Regions from separate parts of the Homo sapiens genome. Here region 2 is linked to region 1. Evidence: promoter capture Hi-C in 16 types of primary human blood cells and fetal thymus (Javierre and others, 2016). All regions are on one chromosome and are shown on one strand. The core of a region is centred on a gene start or on the middle of the fragment in contact, and the rest is flanking DNA. Distances in the headings are between cores, read along the strand shown. Region 1 holds the start of TSPAN12 (tetraspanin 12). Region 2 overlaps CPED1 (cadherin like and PC-esterase domain containing 1).

Region 1 (6,219 bases), core at 1,013-3,512:
GAACACAAAAAAATGGAAAGAACAATTTGCTTAAGAATGGCAGCCTCCTGAAGCAACATTTACTGTTTAAATTGTTACATTTTCCTAAGTTTTATAAGTAATAATACGATTATTAATCATACTTTATTAAGATTTAAAGCATAAAAAGTCATTAACTCATAGGGCATAAAGATTTCCATGAGCTTGTTACATTTTATGTATTTTATTTCCTTAAATGGTTATGGGATTTTCCAAAAGCATACACACAATTCCTTAAACTTTGCCAACTTAGAATTAGTTACATAAAAATCACCCTTCAGACCGTATGGAATCCCCTAGACAAATCTACTCAGCCTTTCTGTGATAGGTTATCTGGGTGTGAATTCCACCACCACCTCCCCCTCGTCCCCGCCCACAAAAAATATATTAAGACTTGGCCCAACTAGATTTTACAGGCGACAGAGATGTAAAGAAACAATTTATGGCTTGCACAATTATCTAAAATTCCCGCAAACAAGCAGTTCCCTAAGTAGTATGTCATAATTTTCTTATCTATGAGTAGAAGCACGTGCATTTATTTATATCCCTAGATTAACTTCAAGTCTAATTTTACTGCCAGTAGTATCCAGGGGTGGATTTCTTTGTTCTAATTACAAATGGAACTTGAGCTAGATCAAAGGCATTTTAAGAAGGTCAAATTTTACTTCTCTGAAAAATAAAGGGTGTTATCCCATGTAATTAATTAATGCTTAGCCATGCCCTTTGGCGCATTATCCGGTGGCTGCAGAAAACCAGAGCCAGCCGTTCCCACCTGTTGGTGCAGTGAAACTTACTTACCCAAAAGAGCAGATTGAGGGCGTAGAGCAGGCAGCGCAGACACTTCACGGAATCTTCTCTGGCCATTGTGAGCCCCGTAAGGGAGAAGCCCCATCCTTTCACCACATCCTACTCCCAAGGGCAAAACGGCAGCGATCTGCAGGGGGCGGGGGAGAGAGAACACGGGACATCTCACCATCACGCTTCCCACAGCCTGCCCGTCCCTCCTCCACCCGCCCTCAGCAGGGTCCAGAGGGTCCCGAGGCCCAGTGCATTCGAGACATCGCCTCATCAAAAATCATTTGTTAAAATCATAATGGTAACTAAACTCCCAAAAGTTCCAAACCGGCTTCAGATAACACCTGCTGGGAAAAGAAAAGAGCAACTATCCGGATGAATGAAGTCGCACAGTAAACTCGCGTTCTCAGGGGACACGCGGCGGAGCCCTGTGCATTCTGATGAGACGCTCTTGAAAACCTCCCTCACTCCACGCCCCTCCTCGAGGACAGCTGTGCTCGGCACTGTCCTGAAGGTGAGAAACCACACTGCCCCCTACCCCGGACACGTCAGAGGCGCCACCGGCAAGCCCGAGAGAATGAGCGCCCTTCTAGTTAGGACAGTTCCTGGGCACTCCAACTCCGCACCCCTCTACCCCGTCCCGCAGCTCGGGTGTGAATGCAAGGGACTGGGGCGGCGGGGCGGGGGCGGGGGCGGGGGCGAGGGGGCAGCGCGGAGTTGAGATTCCGCCCGGCTACTAGGGTTTCTCTGGGAGAACGTGAGAAATGATGTTTTCGGCCCCAGAATGATGGATTAGCCTGGGACAGTGGGCGGGGGGCGGGGGGCGCCGGGGAATTAGGGCCGATGCAGCTGTGCAGACGCCGGGTTAGTCATTCAAACCCCGCTTCCCCCGCCCGGGACGCTCCCGCGACCCCTCGCTCAAAGCCGCCCGCGGAGCACAAAGCGAGCGCGGCCACCGACCCAGCCATCGCGTCCGCGCGCCCCCGGCAGGGCGCGAGGGGAAGCGCCGGCGGCAGGGAGCCCCAGAGCCAGCCCTTAAGTAGTTTAGCACACAGCGCGGAGGGCAGCCGCCGGCGGGCTGGCGGGACAGCGGGCAGGAAAGGCGACAGACGCGTGGCCACTTACCGTCGGCGCTGGGCCCGGTGCCCCACGCCCGCCTGGGGATAGTCGGGGACGCACGGCGGGGGCTCATCGGGGCAGGGAACTTCTTCGCGGAGAGCCGGAGGGCTGCATTGGCTTCAGCTGGAGACGCTTCTTTCTCTTCCTCTCCCCCCGCCGCCGCCGTCGCCGCCTCCTGGGAAAAAGAAAAAAAAAAAAAAAAGTCCTGGGCAGCAGTTGCTGGAAAGTCTCTGCTAAGCCACCTCCCAGCGCCGCTGTCCCTCCCAAGTCCTCTCCGAGTCCGGACGAGGCAGCGGCGGCAGCCAGGGCCAGCTGCACAAACTCTCAGCGCATGCTCGAGCCGCTGGCTGCCGGGGTTGGGTCCTAGTGGGTGTTTCTTGTCCCTCTCACCCAGCGAGAGTCCCCAAAGGGACGCTTCACCTCTGCAGGATAGGGTCCAGAAGATAATGCCTAGGAACTTGGGAGAAGTCCGTGCAGTAAATCCCTTTAAAATGGTGGCGTCGAAGGAATGGAGGCTGGGTTATAAGCATAGAGAAGCAGGCTTTTATTATATGATAATATTTGTGTTTGAGAAGGGGGGTGAAGGGGTGGCCCAACCCAATTCCTGCAATGAGAAACTAGTTTTCACAACCTTTATGGAGCCACCTCCTGTGATTTGTTATTAACATGGTGCCCTATGATCCTTCTTATTGCTTTGTTGCCCTCCCGGATTTTTTTTTTTTTAAGTTCTTTCCCACTTTCATAGTGCACTAATAGCATTTACGGAAACATCAGAGTAATCATGTGCAGTCTGACATGCAGAAGAGGAGGAAAGAACATTTTTAACTCTTAGAAGTAACTCAAGCTTTCCAAAATTTCTCACGATAAGATTGTTTTGAGTTAACTGGGTGATTTATTTTGAAATGTGTACATAGTAGTGGATCTTTGGAAAATCTAATTTTTTTAAACTAGAAATTCATGAAGTATTACACAGCAGGAGACCATCCTTCCAAAAGAATCTTCCCTTTTAGAAGACAGAAGTTTCACACTAAATAAAATGCCACTGGATCATATCCTCCACATAAAATGTGGATGTGTTGTGCTATGCCTCACAGTACTGCTCATTTCTAGGATTACTTTTGTGGGCACTGCATGGCAAATAAAACTTCACCAGCAAATATGAATTACCTGGAATACGAGCAACATCTTTGACCTAATAACTGGAGTCCTTGGATTTCCTTGCAGAAAAAAAAAAAAAAAAAAAAATGGAATCCTATGTCCATGACTGCCTGTCTAGAGTTAGTTGCTGCATGACTGGAGTGACAATAAGACATGCAGTCTCATATGGAAAAGTCAAGACCAAAAGACAACATGGTTGTCCTGGGTTAGGCTAGGAAAATTATTGGTAAGCAAGTCACTAAGCAGTATGTAAGACAGCAACCCAAAAGAGTATAAAGAAGTATAGCCATACACAAAAAAAACACCAAGAAACATGTCCAGTTATCCATCAGATGACTCCAACTCTGATAATGAAGCAGCTTCTAGAATACTGGGGAAGAGCAAAGAAACCCACTTTTATCCTCTGCCAGTTTCTTCTCAAATTAGGGTGCATGCCTATTTTAAGCAAAGGACTGCTGAAACAACCAGCCATCCAAATGCTGTTGGTGCCATACATTCCCCGGAGAGGTATAAACATCCCCGCATTGAAAGGAGTCCATGACTGCTATTAAAACTGAGAAAAAGAGTGCCAACAATTCCCATGTGTCAAAGCAGAGATCCTCTTCTACTCCTAGAAGGTAGTTAAGTGCCCTTTCCTTAATTCGTATACCTTTAAGGGTCAACTGCCTTAAAGTAATAAAATACTAGAGGAAGTTACTTTAGAAGTATGCATGTCCTCTTCTTCCTGGTAAACAAGAAATACAGATCCAAGATAAAGTAGTTGCTCAACGTCACATCTGTAGTCCAACCTAGATTCCAAAGTAAAATCCAGAATAATGGCTCTTAGTACTCTAGTTTAATGGTTCTCGAAATTGTTGTACACGAGAATCACTTGGAGAGCTTTGAAACAACCCTAATTCTCTGGCATGCCTGATACCACTTAAATCGGAGTCTCTGCAGGTGAGGCCTAGACACACAGGGTTTTCCAAGCTCCCAAGGTAATTCTAGTTTGCAGCAAAATTTGAAAACCCTGCAACGAGGGCTTTACAGCTGCCTAAAAACTAGCAAAAGGGTCTCTTTAGATTTCGTTGGATCAAATCCCTCTCCTGTGAGTCGATAAATTGGGATTATTATCCCCATTTTACAAGTTAAGAAGAAAACAGAGCTGTAGTTACTGCTCTAATATTCCTGATAAATGGTCATCAGAGACAGTGAATCAACATTTCAGTAGAGGAGACCTCACCACATTTGAGACATTGCAGTAATGGGCAGTTTTTATTGCTTAAACTTGACCATACCACCTTTTAACTTCTACCCTTCAACCTTAGTTCCGCCCTTGGAGTCCATGGCATGAGCAAGCCTTCCTCCCATATGACAGCCCTTCAACTACTTGAAGGCAGCTGTTCTTCCCTCCCTCTCCAATTCTTCTCTTTCCCAGAATTGTGGAAGCACAGTAAGACTTCACATCGCAGCTGTCATTCTGAGGGTTCTATATTTTTCTCTGTGAGATCTGTTTTTTTGTGTGTGTGAACAAAAGGAGGATAGAAATATCATAATATGCACATAAAAATTTGAATATGTAATAACATATTAGGAAAATTGTATGGTCTATTTACTACCCATTAGTCAGGAACCCAATTCTGTGGCCAGGTGTTCTCCAATAAGTATCATTTCAGTGGTGGTATCTACTGTGCCTCATGCTGAAGATACTAAGACAAGTTCTTACCCTCCAAGAAAAGGCAAAACTATCCTTTCTTATTATATAATAATAATAACAATAATAATGACATCAAAAAGTAATAAAATAAGCATTTACAAGGAATCACATACATGTCAGTCCCAGTGTCAGGAGTAAAACTCAGCTATATGTAAGAGAATACAAGTTCCTCACTCCGTATGGCAGCTTGTTTGTTCATATCTTATTCTATTCATTCTGCTAAAGTTGTGGAGAGAAAAAGGATAACACAGGAGTTTGGATGTATGAGTTGCTATTCCTTCTTAGTACAAGACCCTCACAAGTACTCCTAAGCCAGTACTTTACAATTAATATGGGATAGACACCTAATGTGTTTTGAACAAATTACATGTGTCTGACATAATAGGTGCTTCTCACAATTTATCTTATTAATTCCTCATAACTATATGTTGAGATACTTGAAATCAATTCAGATAGCTGATTTTTGCCAGACCCACACAGGTAGTAAATAAAGAAGCTGAGATTCTAAGATCTGTCTGATTCTTTCCACTGTTTATCTGCATTACAATAAAATTTCAAATCTGGTTGGACAAGACTTAAGAGGAAAATTTTCGAACTTTTTAAAGTTAGTTTTCGAGAATATGAAGCTGAAATTCAAATATGTGTACTTAAACTATGACTGGTAAATCTACTTTCACCTCACTTCTAAAAGAGTATACAGACCTAATAAGACCTGAGAAAATCCTTTCATTACTGAATTAAGTAGACTGCTTTCTACTGTAAGCTTAGGATTGCCAGATAAAATACAAGACACCTCATTAGATTTAAATTTCAGATAAACAACAATTTTTTATTTTTTGGTATAGGCATGTCCCAAATGTTGCATGGGACAAATATTGCACTGGACATACATATACTAAAAAATTATTCAATGTCTACCTGAAATTCAAATTGAATTGCAAACCCTACATTTGTATTAGTTGAATCTGGCCTCCCTATGCAAACTAGCAAATGCACTCAAAGAGCCACAAAAACAAATATGTTTCACATAACAATGAGTCCAGGAATAGCGATTCATCTGCCCAGTAGTGATATCAAGGAATCAGTTCTTTTTCCTCCTTACTCTCCTGACACACACAATGAGTAATCATACTATACTCAGGTACCTCCTCTTATGGTCACAAGATGGCTGTGCAAATTCAAGCATCATTTTCAGTTACCATTACTTCCAAAGGAAGAAGGTATTTTCTCCTATGAGTTTCTCTTAGGATCTAGCAAACCTCTCCCAGGAGTTCTGCAGCAGATTATCCCTTTGATTGATTGGCTAGAACCTGGTCACATACTCATATATCTACCAATTATTCACAAGAACTATGGTTCTACCATAACTGGTTTGTTTTGTTTTGTTTTGTTTTGTTTTGTTTTGTTTTGTTTGAGACAGAGTCTCACTCTGT
Region 2 (6,219 bases), core at 939-3,438, 240 kb after region 1:
AAAGTTTAATAAGTTATAAAAGGTAGCTCAGGTCAACTTGGCTGAAAATGAGATCTAGTGACAATATGTTTGATAAATTTGAAAGAAATTTTGATTTTACAGTATTTTATTGTTCTGCATACCAAAAAGAGGAAATAGAAATGGAAAGAATGCATAGGGTCCCTCATAGTTTGAACAGATTAGAAAATGACTGAACTTGATTTTTTTCAGAATTTACCTTCATAAACTGAATTTTGAATTTTGGAAAATCTTCCACCTCAAGAAGAAGGCATGAGCAAATTTTAGAATTTATTTCTGCCATCTTATTTTTTTATTTAGTATGCTTTCTTTTTCTCCTCTTAAACTTTGCTTTTTCACTGAAAAGCTTACATATTCTTCTGTAAGTTTAAAAGTTGTACATTCTTTACCTATATAACATACAGTGGTCACTGTTAATTTAAAACATGCACTCATTGTTTATGTTTTCCTATGATTTCTTAGACTTTTCAATATCTCTATCTGCTTCCCAACCTTGCCTTCTCAAGACTCTTTTGGTCTCTGTACCATGTCCCCAAATCCCATTATCACAATGTAGATTTTTAGTTTTAGTTGAAATAATCACTTGTTCCCTTTTTTGGTTTTTTTTTTCCTCAAAAACAAAACAAAACTTTATCAAGACACTTACCATCCTTACTTCCCCACATTGTTTACAATGCCCTCCTGGATTTATTTCTTTTATTATTTGAGTGTTTTCAATTTGAGTCTGATGTCCTTAATCTTTAATTCTAAAAATTTGTTTTCATGATTTCTTGAAATATTTTTGCTCACTGTTTTTATTCTTCCTTCTCCTGTTGACCAGATTTGATCCTTCCATTTCTATTTATATTATTTGGCTTTTCTTATCTGCTTTCTGGAAGCATTTCTGTTTTCTGAGACAGTTCTTCAATCTTATCTTTTGAATCGTACAATCTGTGTCCGTTTTTGCATTGCTATAAAGGAACACGTGAGGCTGGGAAATGTATAAAGAAAAATGTTTATTTAGTTCATGGTTCTGCAGGCTGTACAAGTATGGAACCAGCATCTGCTTGGCTTCTGGTGAGGCCTCAAGAAGCTTCCACTGATGGTGGAAGGCAAAGTGGGAGCAGGCATGTCACATAGTGAGAGAGGGAGCAAGAGAGATGCCAGGCTCTTAAACCAAGCTCTCCTGTGAACTAATAGAGGGAGAACTCACCACAGGGAAGGCACCAAGCCATTCATGAGTGATCCACACCTGCAACCCAAATACCTCCCAGCAGGCCCCACCTCCAACATTGGGGATCATATTTCAACATGAGATTTGGAGGGGGCAAATATCCAAATTATATCAAAATCCTTCTTACGCTATAGCTTTGTTGCTGTCTCATCCGTTGTTTCTTGTATTTCAGTTATTTATTTAATGCTGCATGTATAACTTAAATGCTCATGCCCCTTCACTTAAAAACTATGTATATTTTTATTTACTTCTGATATTTTTTACCATATTTCCTCTTTGTTCTTTTTAATGACTTCTTTTTCACATTTTATTTTGCTACTATCTTCCATTATTTCCTTGAGTATATTGCTGGCATGCTTATTTTAAATTCCTCATCTATCAGTTTTGGTAGCATGATATATATTGTTCAGTTTGTTGCCTTTCTTTTGAAGTAGCTGTATTTTTTGTGCATTCTCTATTTTGTCCTTTGAGCTTAAGTCCTCCTGCAGACATTATTTATTCCAGCTAGTATGATGTTTGGGGAAGGTCAGTCCTTTCAGGTGAATCCAAGGAGAAGGGACAGAATGTGCTCCAAACATGAAGAAACCACTTTTGGTCACTTCCCTTTGTAGCCAGGTAACTTCCCTGGTCAGAATTTCACCCCCTAAACTCTCTTAGGCATAAAAGCACAGGGAGGAAGCACATCTTCCTCCGTTATATGTCATCAAGGCTGAAGGTTGACAGACAGTAGGGTGGAGGAGTGAATGCCACATGTGACCAGTAACTCCATACAGTTTTTCCTCCTTTCTCCCAAGAAATTTAGCAATCTGAATCCTGGGCCTGGGCTTAGCATCCTTAACAAGGAAGGAACAACCAATAATTGCCCTAGAGGAAGACAGGGGAGAGTTAGGAGGAAAACGAAAATATTTTCCTTCAGCCTGTCCTCTCAAATAGCCTCCAACAACTCCCCTCCCCCAACTCCACTTATCCCTGACCGTGGCTACCACTGGTCAGACCAGTTCACAATAGCTCTAGACTCCCTTTCAAAGAGGTGTTTGTTATTTTTCTTTGTTATCAAATTCTTGCTTCATTCTCATTTCACCTGGGCTAGTGAATCATCTTAACAGGAAACTGAAGCTCTTAGGTATTTTAAATAATTTTTAAAGTATTTTTCCTCTTTGTATGTAAGTGCCGCTCCCCCTACCCTGATACAAATAACAGGCTAATTTTTATGATAGTTTTTATTTATGTATTTCCTGAAAATAAATGAAAAAAGAAATCTCCTTGTGATCTGGTTTTCTTTAGATTTTCATGCTTCATTCACTATCTCCTTTCTTATTCATATTTTTGTCTTTTCTGTGAGACAGATGCAAGCTGCGGTTGTAGCATAGGAAAGCATGCAGTTCTTGTCATTTTCATCCTCTCCTTGGGATTTATCTTTTCAAGATCTTGCCTGATTATTCTGGACAATACTGTTATCTCCTCAGAGGGAGGTAGTGCAGCTTCCTGGGTCAATGTGGAGAAAGTGATTGTTTCCTTACTAGTTCAAAGTTACGCTTGATGATACAGATAAGTTTCAGAAAACAAGAGGATATTTATTTACCCTTCAACTGATGTACTTGTTATTTCAGTTAAAACAAATAGATTATAACTCATCTGTTAAATTACTTAACCATCCTCAGAAATACTGCTTTCTACTGGTATTTTTAGATGTGAAAAAATACACAGAAACTTCTCACTGCTAATGTGGAGGACAAAACCAAACCCACTTTAAAAACTACCCACGCTATACCAGCATGTTATTAAACACTGTCCTTAAATTCCACAAAACATAATTTTGTGTGTGTGTGTGTATGTGCACGTGTGTGTGTACTGAGTACTGAATTCAAAGCCCAAATGACTTAGTTAAATCAGTAGTGATTTATGTACTGTGTGATGAGGCAAGCCCACTAAACTAGTTATCAGTGAACATTTATAGAACATTCTGGCAGCTAAAGAAGGTATGAAGGCAATAACAGATATAACTATGAGCTCATTTATTTCCAATTAGGTCTTCTGCTGAGATACTTTATCTGTTAAAGCTTTGGAGAGAGTAAAAAAAATCAAGAAATGCAAATTTGAGGAATAATGGAAAATAGAAGCTTTGTAAACTATTTTTAATGCCCTTCTACATAATAAAATATTTAAAAATTTTAGTGTTAGATGTTTCCCAAGGATGTTCAAACCTAAAATCAGAGGAAGTTTTGAAAGGGAAAAATTCGCAAATGTAATATTTGCTTACTATACCATTTGATCTGATTTTAAATCAACTCTATTTGTTGCTGTTAAGACAATATCATTTACTTGATGAGTATAATAAATCTAATTTTAAGAAATATTTTATTTTAAAATGTCTTCCCTTAAAAAGCTCTTAATTATAAAACTTCAGTTTGTATCTATAAATTCACGAGTAAAATTCTTTCACAAATATTCTAACTATAACTTTTGGTTAAATGCATCTATGTCTGTCTTAAAACACAGGTCATAAAGATTAACTGCAAGAAATGTCATAAATTTAAATTCGGTTCTTAGAGCAAAAAGTCACAAGTCATCCCTTCATCCGTTGTAAATCACAAAATAAGTTACCCAACAGAGAGGCAACTGTAATATCTGTAACTTTTTATGATGTCTGAAGATTCTTTGTACTTCTGACCATATTTGACTATTTTTATGAAAATGTATCGCTGAAGAGATTTGTGACTTCTGGCAGAAAAGCTTGTCCAAAGCCTTATTTTGTCCAGTCAAGACATAAATTAATTCATTGTTTGATCAGCCATCCCATATTTGAAGATGTTAGATTTGTTGCTATTCCATATTTGACATCAGATATAAAGTTATATGAAGATGATTCCTTGCATATAATCAGCTCCCTATAAATGTCTCTTCGATTGAATTGAATCAAAGGTCATTAAAAAAATTTTAACTGCATGAAGAAATTGCCTGAGTCTACTTTATCCCTAACTGCTATAAGCCAGCCACTCTACTTTGCAATGATATATACATGATATAGGTAAATATTATACAAATGATCATTTGTTTTCCAGTAAATGCAATAGACAGATGTCATAATCTGAATTTCTGGATAAGGGCCACTTTGATAGAGATAGGGAAATCTGGGATACCGTAGCCTTTTTTCAAGTCAGATTTGTAAGTTCTAAATCACCAGCTCTCTACCACCGCTGCACTGGCCTTCAGGGGACCATTCTTCCATCTCCAGTGCTTGCAGTTCCCTCTCACATCAATACAATCAGCAAATGTGCACAGAGGGCAGAGGAGAACTGTGGCAAAGAGAGGAATGGTGTTATGTACAAGATTCCTTTTAAAAAGATGCATATATCCCTTATTCATTTTGGAAATATGACACAGTTGTAGGGATGAAGTTAGCCTCATTTGTCGTCAATATTTATGCACTGCCTTTGATAATGTTGGGTGAGATTGCTTATATATTCCCAAGGTAAAAATGAGTAATGTCTTTGGAAGAAAGTATAAAGTGACAGTATGGTTTTTCAACCTTAGGAAGTGTTCTTCCCCTGATCTTCATTTTATGTCCAAAACTGCAGGCTACGAAGCAGACCTTGTAAAAGGCTTTTGACTGAGCATCTGGCCCTTCGCTAGGCCCGGGAGATTTATGTCAGCTGTAGAAAGAATGTGAATAAAAGTCTTCTCCTGAGAGTTTGTAAAAAGAGTTGACGTATTACTTAACCTACTTTTGCTTGAATTAAATTTTAAAATTGCATCAGGGTGTTCATTTTAAAGTATGATTTTATATAAATAGAAATTATAAATAACCAGCATGTAATTGAATAAACTTGTGACCAAAGCTGACTTACTTTAAAAACTTTTATAATAACTGCAAAGTAATCAGCCCACATTGATGTTAGATTGCACTAATACTCTTTATAGCAACTTTGTGTCTTTTTAAAAAGCAATTCATTCACTCATTCATTCATTCCTTCATTCCCAACTTGGTTCTATTAAAAGATTTGTCAAGTCATTTTGTACATTCGTTAATTCTGAAGGCTGAACTTGGATGATTATCCTAAATGTAAAGAAAACTATTCATTAATGATGATCATCTTTATCTGGCCAAAATGATAACTTAAGCAGATGACTCTAAGCCTCAAAAAGGCAAGCAATGTGTTTGCATTTCCAGAGCCTCACAGAGTTCCTGGCGCATGGCAGATGCTCAAAAATGTTTATCAGTGAATCGTTGTCTATCATCCTTATTTTAATTAAAGGTACCTCATTAATAATAACTTATTAAAAACTGCCATTTGGGGAAAATATGATTTAAGAGCAGGTTCTACAACAGAAGATAGTATTATGGATTTACATATTCCATCATTGTTAATTCAGGCATATTTTCCCTTCTGAACTAGGGTAATGAACGCATAGACATATGCAAATATAATTAACTAACATAATGCTTTATATAGGTAGATGCTATATAATGCTTTATATAGGTATACACATATATGTGTATATATGCCTACATATATATATATAATGTATTATGACAGTGTAAAGGTAAAACCTAACACTAATGAATAAATTTGCTAATTATTATTGCCTTTAATACTAGAAAATCAGTAGGCAAGTGTTAATTATATATCCAGAAAAATGGAGGTAAGCTAATACTCAGGGATTTCAGTGTGAAATCAGGTGAGGTAAGTTCATTCCTTCTTCCCTCCTTCTGGATGCTTGAAAGATGGAAAAGTTCCTCAATAGTACTTTGGAGGATAGAATGTATGTTTCCCTTCTCAGCTCCTCCCCTTCACCTGTCCTGTTCACAGCCTGCTTCTCCCTGGAGCCATCAAGGGAAGGTATATGCTGGGATGAGGATGGGACCCAGTTATGGACTTGAAAAGAGCAAGTGTTGTTTCTCTGAACTGGATCCTGGAAGTGTATTGCCCGTGAACTTCACAGAAGCTCTTAAAAATTAATCTCTGCGGGCTCTTCCTCTTTCTGCC

Evidence for each region. The method cuts DNA at HindIII sites, captures the fragments that hold promoters and counts their contacts. A CHiCAGO score of 5 or more calls a contact.
Region 2: a contact is called between a fragment that was not itself captured here and the fragment with the promoter of TSPAN12 in region 1, in 2 of 17 cell types (erythroblasts and megakaryocytes). The highest score is 6.3, in erythroblasts.

Annotation. Positions count from the first base shown.
Region 1 is chr7:120,855,882-120,862,100 of GRCh38, forward strand. TSPAN12 (tetraspanin 12) reads right to left here and starts at 2,263. Exons shown (of 8, transcript NM_012338.4): 1 at 1,939-2,263; 2 at 817-952. The coding sequence starts at 882. It overlaps LOC124901733 (a long non-coding RNA gene), which reads left to right and starts at 954. Exons shown (of 2, transcript XR_007060491.1): 1 at 954-1,327. RefSeq lists silencers at 1,206-1,425, 1,618-1,917. The HindIII fragment of the contact is 3,134 bases long and covers 1-2,774 here.
Region 2 is chr7:121,100,624-121,106,842 of GRCh38, forward strand. All of the region lies in intron 7 of CPED1 (cadherin like and PC-esterase domain containing 1), which reads left to right. Among named protein-coding and RNA genes, the nearest start is that of CPED1, 120 kb to the left of the region's middle. The HindIII fragment of the contact is 2,201 bases long and covers 1,089-3,289 here.